Linked DNA regions of Homo sapiens: all the other regions are linked to region 1. The links are contacts of gene promoters, found by promoter capture Hi-C in blood cells and fetal thymus (Javierre and others, 2016). All regions are on one chromosome and are shown on one strand. Each heading gives the region's core, a stretch centred on a gene start or on the middle of the fragment in contact. The rest is flanking DNA. Distances are from core to core; before and after follow the strand shown. Region 1 holds the start of C21orf140 (chromosome 21 open reading frame 140). Region 2 has its middle 22 kb from the start of CLIC6. Region 3 overlaps RCAN1 (regulator of calcineurin 1).

Evidence for each region. Contacts are between HindIII fragments. The CHiCAGO score rates a contact against its expected background, and 5 or more counts as called.
Region 2: a fragment that was not itself captured here is called in contact with the fragment with the promoter of C21orf140 in region 1 in 9 of 17 cell types (M0 macrophages, M2 macrophages, M1 macrophages and 6 more); the score reaches 10.6 in M0 macrophages.
Region 3: a fragment that was not itself captured here is called in contact with the fragment with the promoter of C21orf140 in region 1 in 12 of 17 cell types (M2 macrophages, M0 macrophages, M1 macrophages and 9 more); the score reaches 16.3 in M2 macrophages.

What each region holds. Positions count from the first base shown.
Region 1 is chr21:34,399,122-34,402,902 of GRCh38, forward strand. It overlaps C21orf140 (chromosome 21 open reading frame 140), which reads right to left and starts at 1,951. Exons shown (of 1, transcript NM_001282537.2): 1 at 991-1,951. The coding sequence starts at 1,951. The coding sequence ends at 1,196. The HindIII fragment of the contact is 9,278 bases long and covers 1-1,975 here.
Region 2 is chr21:34,644,674-34,648,454 of GRCh38, forward strand. No RefSeq gene overlaps it. Among named protein-coding and RNA genes, the nearest start is that of CLIC6, 22 kb to the right of the region's middle. The HindIII fragment of the contact is 3,295 bases long and covers 548-3,781 here.
Region 3 is chr21:34,595,005-34,598,785 of GRCh38, forward strand. All of the region lies in intron 1 of RCAN1 (regulator of calcineurin 1), which reads right to left. Among named protein-coding and RNA genes, the nearest start is that of RCAN1, 18 kb to the right of the region's middle. The HindIII fragment of the contact is 8,670 bases long and covers 1-3,781 here.

The sequences.
Region 1 (3,781 bases), core at 701-3,200:
AAACTTCTGGCTCAAGTGATCCTCCTCCCTCAGCCTCCCAAGTAGCTAGGACTATAGATGTATGCCACTCAGCCCAGCTATTTTTAAATATTTTTGTAGAGATGAGGTCTTGCTGTGTTTCCCAGGCTGGTCTTGAACTCGTGACCTCAAGCAGTCCTCCTGCCTCGGCCTCCCAAAGTGCTGGGATTACAGGTGTGAGCCATTGTGCCCAGCCATAAATTATTCTTTTTGCACTCCTCGGAATGATTACCTCTGAAATGACTGTCTGAATGTACATAACCAACAGTGAATTTTATGATATGTTTAATAGGGGTAGTCTTTTTCTATAAAAATGAAAAAGACAACCACAGATTCTTACAACAGACATCGGCAGCAGCCCCAAACCTAAATAGGGAGGTGTTGTCCCAGCTGCAAGTGGCTCAGCTACAGGGTCTCGAGATGAAACTCCACGGCACAGTCTAATGACCTGCTGGAATTCCTGGAGTTGGCGGGGAGATTGGCTGGATAAGTGGTCTCTGCAGACCCCCATGCGTGCCACCCCTTTGCCCACCATAGCCCACTTGAACCCACCACTGTCATAACTTTCCAGGTCCTAACTGGGACCACCTACTCCCCTTGGAGGGTCCGGATGGAGTTTCCCCTCTGCGGCTGCCTCTCACTCATCCTCCACCACTTTGCCGACAAGGAAGGAAGGACAATCGGGAGGAGGGAGTCTTGCTTGGCGACCATCTGGACAATATCTCGCCCATGGCAAGCTGGATCCCTGTGGATTACTTTGGTGGGTGGAAACTTGGCACACTATTTAATTTGGGCTTTTTGGGGGATGACTGCACACTGGTTCTCTTTTTTTCTCAGACCTAAATTTCGACCACTCAACTTTCAGCCTGCTCACCCCTGCTTATTGCCATCCACCTTTGGGCTGGGTTAGACCTAATCCTCCCCTTGACAAAGCCCTCAAAGTAGCCTTCACAAGATAAGAGTCGAGACCCCTAACTTACCAACAAATTTTAATGAAACTTCTAGTAAACTCAAAGCGCTTTGCCAACATCCTTAGGAGCAACCCAGTTCTCGCAGCACCCCATGTGAGGTCGCTGTTGAAGTATCTTTGGCTGCAGTGGTGTGGAATTCATCTCAACAGAGTTGACGGTAAAGACCAGACATGTAGCAGCCTCACTGCTTGTTGGAGGAACCACCCTTAAGAAAATTTCCCAAGATAGTAGTTTTCCCATCTCCGTACTTTGCTAGTTAATGTTCTCCACTTGCTTGCGTTTATCCTTTCAATTCCTTTGCTAATTAAATTGCTGAAAAGTATACATTGGTAAGAATAGCCACTGTCAATGGACTGCAAACAAAACTCGTTTCTGTTATTGATGATAAACCATTTCAGAGAAGACCAGGCTGAGTCTAAAGGGTTCAGATAATTACAAGGGGAAGGCAGAGAGAGTAGTTCATGGCCACAGGACTTGGCCACCTCTGGGCAACACATAATGCTTGCTAAGCTAATGACTGTAGGGATATAGAACTGGCCCTCAGCCTCTCTGTCTTCCTTTGGCCTCTGCTCTTCCTGCTGCCTTCTCTCTTTGACCACGATGACACACTTTCCATAGGCCTTCCTCACCACATCACAGAACTCAGAGAAGAGGCTGTCTTCTTGTTTGATACACAGCTCGTCTCTTAGGAACACCCGATATTTCCAAGGCACCCATCCTTGACTACCCGCAGCATGCACAATACACCAAGTTGGGGTTTGTATGAAATATCCATCACTAATATCTTCCCCAGTTACGAGACTTTCTGGGATATTGGTTTCCCCAAAATATACGGTCTTAAATCCATCATATTGCAGTGTTCTCAGGGTTTTCAGATATTGGAGGCATTGCTTCCTCTTGATGCCATCAAATTGACTTCTGATAATGACATTTCTTAAAAGAGGGCTTGCAAAGCGAGGCATGGTGGCTTCTCAAGTGTTTTTAAAAGCTTGCACATCTGCATCTGGGGAGAGATGGCAAGTGGGGGATGATGACCTCATAAAGGGCTTTCTTACAGTGGTGCCAGTCCCACACATACACTTCAGATTTCAAGCATCATGGAATAAATACTCAGAACAACTCCCTGCTGACCCATAAAATATGGGAATTGCAGATGCTACCCATAAAAATGCTACTTTGACATCACTTCTGCAATAGGTCTGAGACAGAGGTTGGCAATCTTTTAATAGTAATGAGCCTACCCATTTGGCTTAAGATGGGGAGAAATGTTTACATTCATTCATCCATTTCAAAAATATGTACTGATCACCTGCTGTACACCAGGCATTGTGCCAGGCACCAGGGGTATAGTCATGACACACCCAGGGAGTCCTGGACTTACGTGTTGTGTGTCTGTGTATGCATAGAATTTGTGCCAGTTGCCTTCCCATTTGCACAACTAAGAGTGATTTTTTCCAGGTGGCAGAAGGAAGGTATGGCAAATTGCAAAAGAAAGTCAGTCTGCACACCTAGCTTCCACTGGCGCTTGCAGGTCTTTTTTTTTTTTTTTTTTTTTTTTTTTTTCTGAGAGGGAGTCTCTCTCTGTTGCCCAGGCTGGAGTGCAGTGGCACGATCTCGGCTCACTGCAACTTCCGCCTCCCGGGTTCAAGTGATTCTCCTGCCTCAGCCTCCCGAGTAGCTGGGACTACAGGCACCTTCCACCATGGCCGGCTAATTATTTGTATTTTTAGTAGAGATGGGGTTTCACCGTGTTAGTCAGGATGGTCTCGATCTCCTGACCTTGTGATCCGCCCGCCTCGGCCTCCCAAAGTGCTGGGATTACAGATGTGAGCCACTGCGCCCACCCGGAGCTTGCAGTTATTGAACTAATTCAATACCTCATCTTGAAAGCACTTTTAATTTTATATACTCAGGCAAAATGACAGTTTGCTTCAAACTCTAACCATCTCTTCCTTTGTATTTTCTTGCCTCTTTAATCAGAGCTAAAGACATTTCATAAAATGGGCATGAAGGATTCCTTCAAATGAAGACGTGGACAAAATGATTGGTCAGGTCCTTTGCTCTACTGTTGAATGGAGGAGGATTTTTTTTTTTTTTCCCTCACACAGGGGTTTTCTTGGAGCTCAAGTTTGGATGACCCCAGACAGTAAGATAATCTCATCATGGTAAAGTTAATATGAAATATGTGGTCTCCAAACAGCCTCTCCCAGAGGCCAGGATCAGCAGGTTTGAGTGGATAATTGGCTTGTGGTCATTTTCTCATAGGATTTTTCTTTTAGTAGTGGAAACTGTTTTTCAAATCAAATTTGGATGCCAACTATGTGGAACAGAAGTGTGGCTGCTCTGGTGGAAGTGGCAATGGTAGTCCTAGAGTCTCCCTGTCAGCCACACCCTTTGTCTCCCCCTACCCAAGGGACCCTGTGGCCTGGAACCGCAGTGTGAAATGCTATATAGTGCAATGAAGTCAATTCGAAGACAAGAGTTCTTTGCCTTTCTCATCTAATTTTTAGTTATGGATATGAGACGCTTGTTCAGAAGTATGGAAAAGTATATATAATATGTTATCTTTTAGATGTGGGTGTAAATATGCTTATGTATGCAATATGCTTATATTTTAACGCATAAACAACATGAATAAAGCAAACACTCTAGACTTCTCCAAATGTATCTTGTTTTACAGTTTTCATTTTGGAAAATGTCAACATTTTTACATTAAAAAATATTACTCAGCCATAAAAAAGAATGAAATCACGTCTCTTGCAGCAACATGGACAGAACTGGAGGCCATTATT
Region 2 (3,781 bases), core at 945-3,444, 250 kb after region 1:
TCCTAGAGAAATGGAAAACTCCCTCCTGGACAGGGCATTGAATTTCCTCCAGCATGAAGTCCCCTTTTTGCTGATGAATCCCACTTTGCTCCCAAATCTAGGACTCAGGGTTCTGTTTGCCTTACATCACCTCCAAAGGAAGCCGGCTGGCACCAAGGGCCAGCCCCTGGAAACTTGGGAAGCGTTTGATTCCACTTATCTGAGCACAGAAGCAGCATGCCAGCCTGCCTGATACAGTCAGGTGCGTCATGAATTCCAAGGCTGACCCACCAAATCAGGGAGCTTGGGTCCCATGATCTAGGGCTTTTGCCAGCAAGTCAAGGCCTTAAATTCCTGGAGGCTGATCACCTGCCAAAAACCACTTCACAGATGAACGTGTCCTGAAAGGGGGCTTATATACCTTGGATATATGATCCGCCCTCCTGACAAGCCACAGCAGCACTTAAAAAGGCTTGTGAAGGGATGATGCCAGTGGAAGAAAACAGGAACTTTGACCTCCCAGAGCCTATGGATACCAAGAAGGGATCAGATGACTGATTTTTTCAAAAGCTTCCTGGTGGAATAAATGCATTTCACAGGTAAGCCCTGGAACAAAACAAGGCTCACTGAAACGAGTCCATTGTTGGCTTCAGTAAAGTCTAAAGGGAAGGTTGGGCCTTTTTAAAGAAATAGGGTCTACATCAGTTGTGAAAATTTTACAAGAAGCATGTGAAACATGCATGAAGTACAGTGTAGGAGGTATATGAATCAGCCAGAATGGAGTTTTAATAAAGACGCTGCAGATTCATTAAGAAGAGAATTCATTAGAAAAACCCTGAGTTGGCCGGGCGTGGTGGGTCATGCCCGTAATCCCAGCACCTTGGGAGGCCAAGGGGGGCAGATCATGAGGTCAAGAGATCGAGACCATCCTGGCCAACATGGTGAAACTTCGTCTCTACTAAAAATACAAAAATTAGTTGGGTGTGGTGGTGCACACCTGCAATCCCAGCTACCCGGGAGGCTGAGGCAAGAGAATCATTTGAACCCAGAAGGCAGAGGTTGCAGTGAGCCAAGATGGCGCCACTGCACTTCATCCTGATGACGGAGAGAGACTCTGTCTCAAAAAAAAAAAAGAAAAAAAAAACCCAGAGTTTACAAATAAAGGCCAGAAGGGATTAACGTTTGGAAATCTGAATTGCTAATCTCTTTAAAAAAAACATTTTTTCTTTCTTTATTATTATTATTATTTTAAGACAGAATCTCTCACTCTGTCACCCAGGCTGGAGTTCAGTGGTGTGGTCTTGACTCACTGCAAACTCCACCTCCTGGGTTCAAGTGATTCTCCTGCCTGTCTCCTGAGTAGCTGGGATTATAGGCGAGTGCCACCATGCCTCGCTAATTTTTGTATTTTTAGTAGAGACAAGGTTTCACCATTTTGGCCAGGCTGGTCTTGAACTCCTGACCTCAGGTGATCCACCTGTCTTGGCCTCCCAAAGTGCAGGGATTACAGGCGTGAGCCACTTCGCCCGGCTAAAAATAATATTATTTTTGAATTGGTAATCAGTGCACAGGAATCAAAAGTCAAAAACACTCTACAAAAGTATTCACAGAGTTGAATCATTCCCACCCTCACACTTTCCCCTACATAACCATTTAGATCAATTTCTTGTTTACTCTTTCAGTGTTTCTTTAAGTAAATATAAGCAGTTCTTTTTTTGTTATTTTCGCAGCATTGAGCCGCCAGCCAACTCTGGCCAGTGGTGCCCTGTAGCCTTTCTGGGAATGTGGGAAAGGAAAGAAGAGAAAGCCTTGAGCAACACTGGCTGGTCGCATGGTACCAGTAGTACTCCCCCACATGCTGTGACAACCAAAAATGTCTCCAGACATTGGCACATTGCCCCTGGTTGAGAATTGCTGGTGGAAAAAAATCACAGCCCCGCAGTTGGTCAGGCCCTTTTCAGACAACACCCCCCACTCCATTACTCTTTGATGTTGAGCCCAGCACAATTTTCAGGTCCTGGACTCCCAAGGTTGGAGCCTCCACTTTTCAGGAAGCGGTTGCATTCGATTTCAGGAAGCGGTTGCATTAGATTTGTAGAGAGTGGGGGCCAAGGCATCATCCAGGCCACCTTCATCCCCTGGGACTGCTACTGCATCCTCCTAACTCATCTCCTGCGTGTTCTACATGCACAGCGGTCCATACCACCCCACAGTGGGCAGCCCCTTGGGGTGCCTTAATGCTCTTCGGATAAAGCCCAGACTTTCTGATGGGGCTTGTGGGGCCCTTCAAAGTGCAGTCCTTGGCTGGGTGTGTAGCTCATGCCTATAATCCCAATACCTTGGGAGGCTGAGGTGGGAGGATCATTTGAGGCCAGGAGTTCGAGACCAGCGTGGGCAACACAGTGAGACCCCATTTCTACAAATAATAGAAAATAAAAAATTAGCCAAGAGTGGTGGCTTGTGCCTCTAGTCCCAGCTACTCGGGAGGCTAAGGCAGGAAGATTGCTTGAACCCAGGAGTGCAAGACTTTAGTGAGCCATGATTGCACCACTGTACCTCCAACCTGGTCAAGAGAGTGAGACCCTGTCTCTAAAAATGAAAGAAATTTAAAAGGTAAGAACCAAGGGAAGTCCTTGCCTGCCTCTCCAGGCCTCTCAGTTGCCTGCTGTCCCTGTTCACACTTGGCTCCATCCTCACTGAGACAACTTTTTTCCCTGGCATACTCCTTGCTCTGGGTTTTTCCCATGCCCTTTCCTTGCCTGGAATGCCATCTCCCACCTTTTTCCTGGCCAGCAAAACCTCTATTCATCCTTCAGGTGTACCTCAGAGCTGACCAACCCTCCCCACATCTACCTGGCCTGGCCCTGGGTCCCAGTTGGGCACTCCTCCTAAATACTCCTAGATATGCAGAACATTTACTTCCTCATGTTGTCATTGTTTGTCTAATTGTCTGAAGCCCCCCAGGAATGTGGCTGCACAAGGACATAGACTAGATGGCCTTGTGACCCCTGTGTCCCTGGCCCCAGCACAGTGGCTGGCAACCAGCAGGTCCCAGTGCATGACTGCTAAATGCATGCACACATGGCACAATGCTTGCAACCAGGCACATGCTTCCCCAGCCTTAGGAAGGGTTACGTTCATGGGGTTAGGTTCACAGACGCTGGAGCCAGGCTGTCTGGGTACACTCTGCACTGTGGGGCTCTACCACTTCCCGACGGTGTGCCCTTGGGCAAATTGCTTACCTTCTCTATCCCACATCTTTACATCGTTAGCATTTACGTCAAGGATTATATTAATCATATGAGCTAATGTATGTTATGTGTTTATAGTAGTGCCTGGCATATCGTCAGCACCATAAAAGAGTTTGCTGTTCTAGCTTCAAAACTCTTCATAGAACTTACACTCGGTAACAGGATAAGAATTTTGATTTCAGGAGGGATGGCAGGTGATGGGATGATGAAGGGAGGGAGACTGGGCAGATTGGAGGGAGACTGGGCAGATTGGGAGTTCCTCATGTGTAAGAGGAAACCAAGAGCCTGCAATTCTCAAGTATAACATTACGCCCTCAGAGAAGTGGGTGGGAAGATTCCAGAGACTTGCTCATTTTACAAACATTTATGGTAGATTGATTTGGGGTCCAAGAAAGGAGAATGAAACTCTCTTTTTTCCATCCTCTCCTTTCGGCCCTCTCTTCCCAGGACTCACATGAATGAACGTCTCTGGACACCTAATCACCATTTATCAATCTCACTTCTATGAGAAAAACACATTTCAAGTACCTACCCTCCAGCTTGTCAACAAA
Region 3 (3,781 bases), core at 476-2,975, 200 kb after region 1:
CTCCAGATGCCTCAGTGACTCCATCCATAAAATGGGGACAGTCATAGTATCTGCTTCACAGGGTTTATGTGAGGATGAAATGCATTCACACTTCTAGGCAGTGCCATACTTACAGCAGCACCTGGCACTGGACAAACACTATGGAAAACAGTGCCTGACACAGAACAAATGCACTAAGAGCATTTCCTTACACACACACCTGGAAACCACTTGCTCTAGTAACTGGCACAGAGTGGGTGTGGCATAAATGGTGGGAGAAATTCATCATAGCCTCTTCCCATCTGGGGGTGTGCTGAGATGCTGGAAAAGAGGGTCATCAAAAAAGGAGGAAAAATCCCTTAGCTCTTAAGCCCTAAGAAAGTGCTTCACAGCTTTTCCTTGACCATGAAAAATACAGAAGCAACACCCGCAGAAAGAATAGAATCCTAGTAATTTTGTGTTCTGAATCAAGCTAAGTTTGACCTTTGAGCAAATTACTGGCTCTCTGCTAAGAGTGTACAGACCCATCTATTCATCATAGACTTCACTGTCTGGGAATGAGCCCCGGAGCCCAGGCTCTGCAGGTTGTTGCTGTTACGTAAGCCAGTGCAGGAGCCGTGCTGAGAAAAGGAAACTGCGCAATCTGCTCAGGTTCCCAGGAAGGCCAGGGTCCTTGTCCCACCTGAGGAGCTGACTTCTCAACTGGCAGCAGATTCAGGCATGCACACTGCCTTCGCCGGCCACTGGAAGGGCACTGCTCCCAACACCCACTCACACGCTGCCTGGATGGCTCTGATGGGGGCCACTGGGCAGGCCGGACAGGCTGCCTCAAGGAGCTGGGGACCTGTGGTGTCAGACAAGCTGACCACCCCCCGGCAGGGGTGGGACATACGTGTGAAAAGGGGAGTCTGGGGGTCCCCCACACAGTCCATCTACGCAGATGCAGGCCAAGCTCCCCAGATAAGCCTGCCTCAAGGATTCTGGCCGAGGAGCAGAGGGGGCCCTTCCTGGAGGTCACCTGCCCTTGAAGCAGGTAGAGAAGACATCTTAGTGTGGATCAGTGCTGACATCTGTGGAGAGTGGACTCTCGGCACTTTCTGTCTGTGGACTCACGTCCCCATCCCCGGAGCCCTGTGAGGTGGCTATTATGAGCCCCATCCTACAAGTGGGCAAACTGAAGCACCCATGTCCATGCTACCAGGGAGCAGCAGTGCCAGGAAGAAGCTCAAGTGCCCGGCCTTCTTAACCTCTAAGCTCCAACAGGTGACCTCCAGTATAAGCGGAGGCCTTCCTGCCCTCCAGAAAAAGCCGAGAGTCTCTGTAGCGTGGTTCCCTCCTGCTTCTTTTGAATGAACGACTGGGAGGGAAGGCTGAGGAGACCCACAGGGGCCCAGGGACTGATGCAGGGAACCCCCTCACTGGGGAAAGAGAGAAAGAGTTGGCTAAAGTAGAAAAAACTCGAAGTGCAAGCAGGGCTGTGGCTCCTGCATGACCGAGAAAGCCTCCTTGCCCACTGGAGCCTCAGCTGAGGGCCTTCTCGAAGGCTCTGCTTTCTATATTCTCTCCACTCCCTGACCACGGCAGGCTGGGTTCTCGTAAGGTTTAGAGCCGTCTCAGGGACAGGAGCAACCCCCGCTGCCATGCAGAAGATGCAGAAAGTCTTCTTTTAGAAGCACTGGAAAATACATTCGAACCGGGATGGGCATTTCCTGATGATGTTGGAACACCAACACAGTACCTCAGGGTGCTTTCCACCTCGACAAAGGGCCGAGGACTTTGCCTCCCTGCCTTTATCTTGCGAGAACCTTTGCACTGTGGAGTGAAGGAGCTCGGCTGAAAACTCAACAACTGCACAGCCCTTGGCTGGACCCACACTAGGGAAGGTGTCTGCGAGGCTCGGGCCTGCTCACTGTGCTGTGCGTTGGTCTGCACACACTGGGACTTCGGTGATAACTTACAGAAGGGAAATGGGAGGGGAGGAGTAAAGAAGGGGTTGGACAGTGACACCAGCTTGAGACAGAGAGTAAGAATCCTGGGCTCCCAGTCTCAGTTTCGTCATGAACTTGCTGTGTGATGTGGGCCCAATCTCAGCATCTCTGGGCACAATGAGTGGCCACCAGGGCCTTTCTAGCATTCATATCTTACCCTTCCATGAATGAGCGAGGAACCCGTGCAGCCCAGTTCTGCAGCTACCAGCCACATGGGGCTATGTCAATGAAAATTAGCAAAAGTAAACACTCCTCGGTAGTACTAGCTACATTTTAAGTGCTCAATAACATGACAATTTAAATGAAAATTAATTAAAATGAAAAAAATTAAAAGTTCAGTTCCTCAGTCATGTCCACCACATTTCAAGCACTCAGTGGCCACAAGTGGCCAGTGGTTACTGCAGTGGACAGTGCGGATACAGGACACTCCCACCACCCTAGGGAGTCCTCCACAGGGCAGCATCGAGAGTGTGCAGATGGAGATGTGGCTCACAGAACGTTCGGGAAGCTGCTTCTTTAAAGAAGAATTGTGTGTCAGCTTGGAGCCTATGTAAAAGTAATGAAAGAAAGCTAGATGTGTCTGTTGGGGTAACTAGGTCTGTAACAGGGAAAGTCATCAAGATACCTGAAGGTGAGATAAAATACCATATTGCCACACCCAAGCTATGGTCAGTGGTGAAAGACTAGCGTGTTTCCATAAGATGAGAATACCCATCTGCTGCCTCTATAATGTTGAAATACAATTTGAAGTATTATAAACAAGATGGAAAAATCATCATTATTTGCAGGTGATACGATTTTATACCTAGAAAATGCAAAAGAATCAACTATTAGAAATAGTCAAAGGCTTTAGCACAGGTGGTTGGTTACAAAATTAATACACAGAAACAATAATCTTCTCTATATAGAGGTAAAAATAAGTGTAATTTAAAAATCCCATTTTTAAATAATTTCTTAAATTTACATAAAAATGTTCATATTGAAGAATCTAAAACATAAATACAAATTAAAGAAATAGATAGGGTCTATATAAAGAAAACTTCCACCCTGTACTGAGTAGAGAAAAGATGGCTTACATAAGTAGAATAACACCACAGGAACCTAGGATGTAAAGACGTCAACTCTCCCTAAGTAACTATAAACCCAAAGCAATCTCACTCAAAATATTAACAGGTTTGGATGTTCCATTTTCGTTTTCATTCTTGTAAGGGAGTAGAGGACAGTTTGAAAGTAACAGTATACTTCTAGAGTTCCCAAAGAAGAAGCAGCAAATGATACTAGCCAGGAAAACAAATACTGGAAAAAAAGAATAGGACAATTCACTGTATTAATTGTTAAATCACGCTAAAATGTAAGATCACAGTCATGAAAACAGTAGTATGAAACTGGCTTAGAAATGAACAAAAAGATCAAGAGAAGAATCCTGATAGAAGAGCATATTTGATCATTTAGGTGGTATTTCAAATCTTCAAAGAAAGAGCACTGCTTAGCAAACAACATTGGAACATCCCACAGGTAACATGCAAACGAGAAAACCAGAAATCTAACTCACTCCTCATACCAGAATGTCCAGTGAATTAAAAGCAAACATCAACAACAAAAATGTACAAGTTCTAGAAGAAAACCTACTCCTATACATCTTGGCCTAGGTATGAAACAACCTCAGGAGAAAGGAAGGCAAAATTTCTGCATCTGAACTACAAATAAAAATAATACAAAATTCTATGGAGTAAAAACACCATAAAATCAAATGGCAAACTGGAGAAAATATCTGTAATATGTGCAGTAAGGTACTAATTTCCTTAATAAGCAAA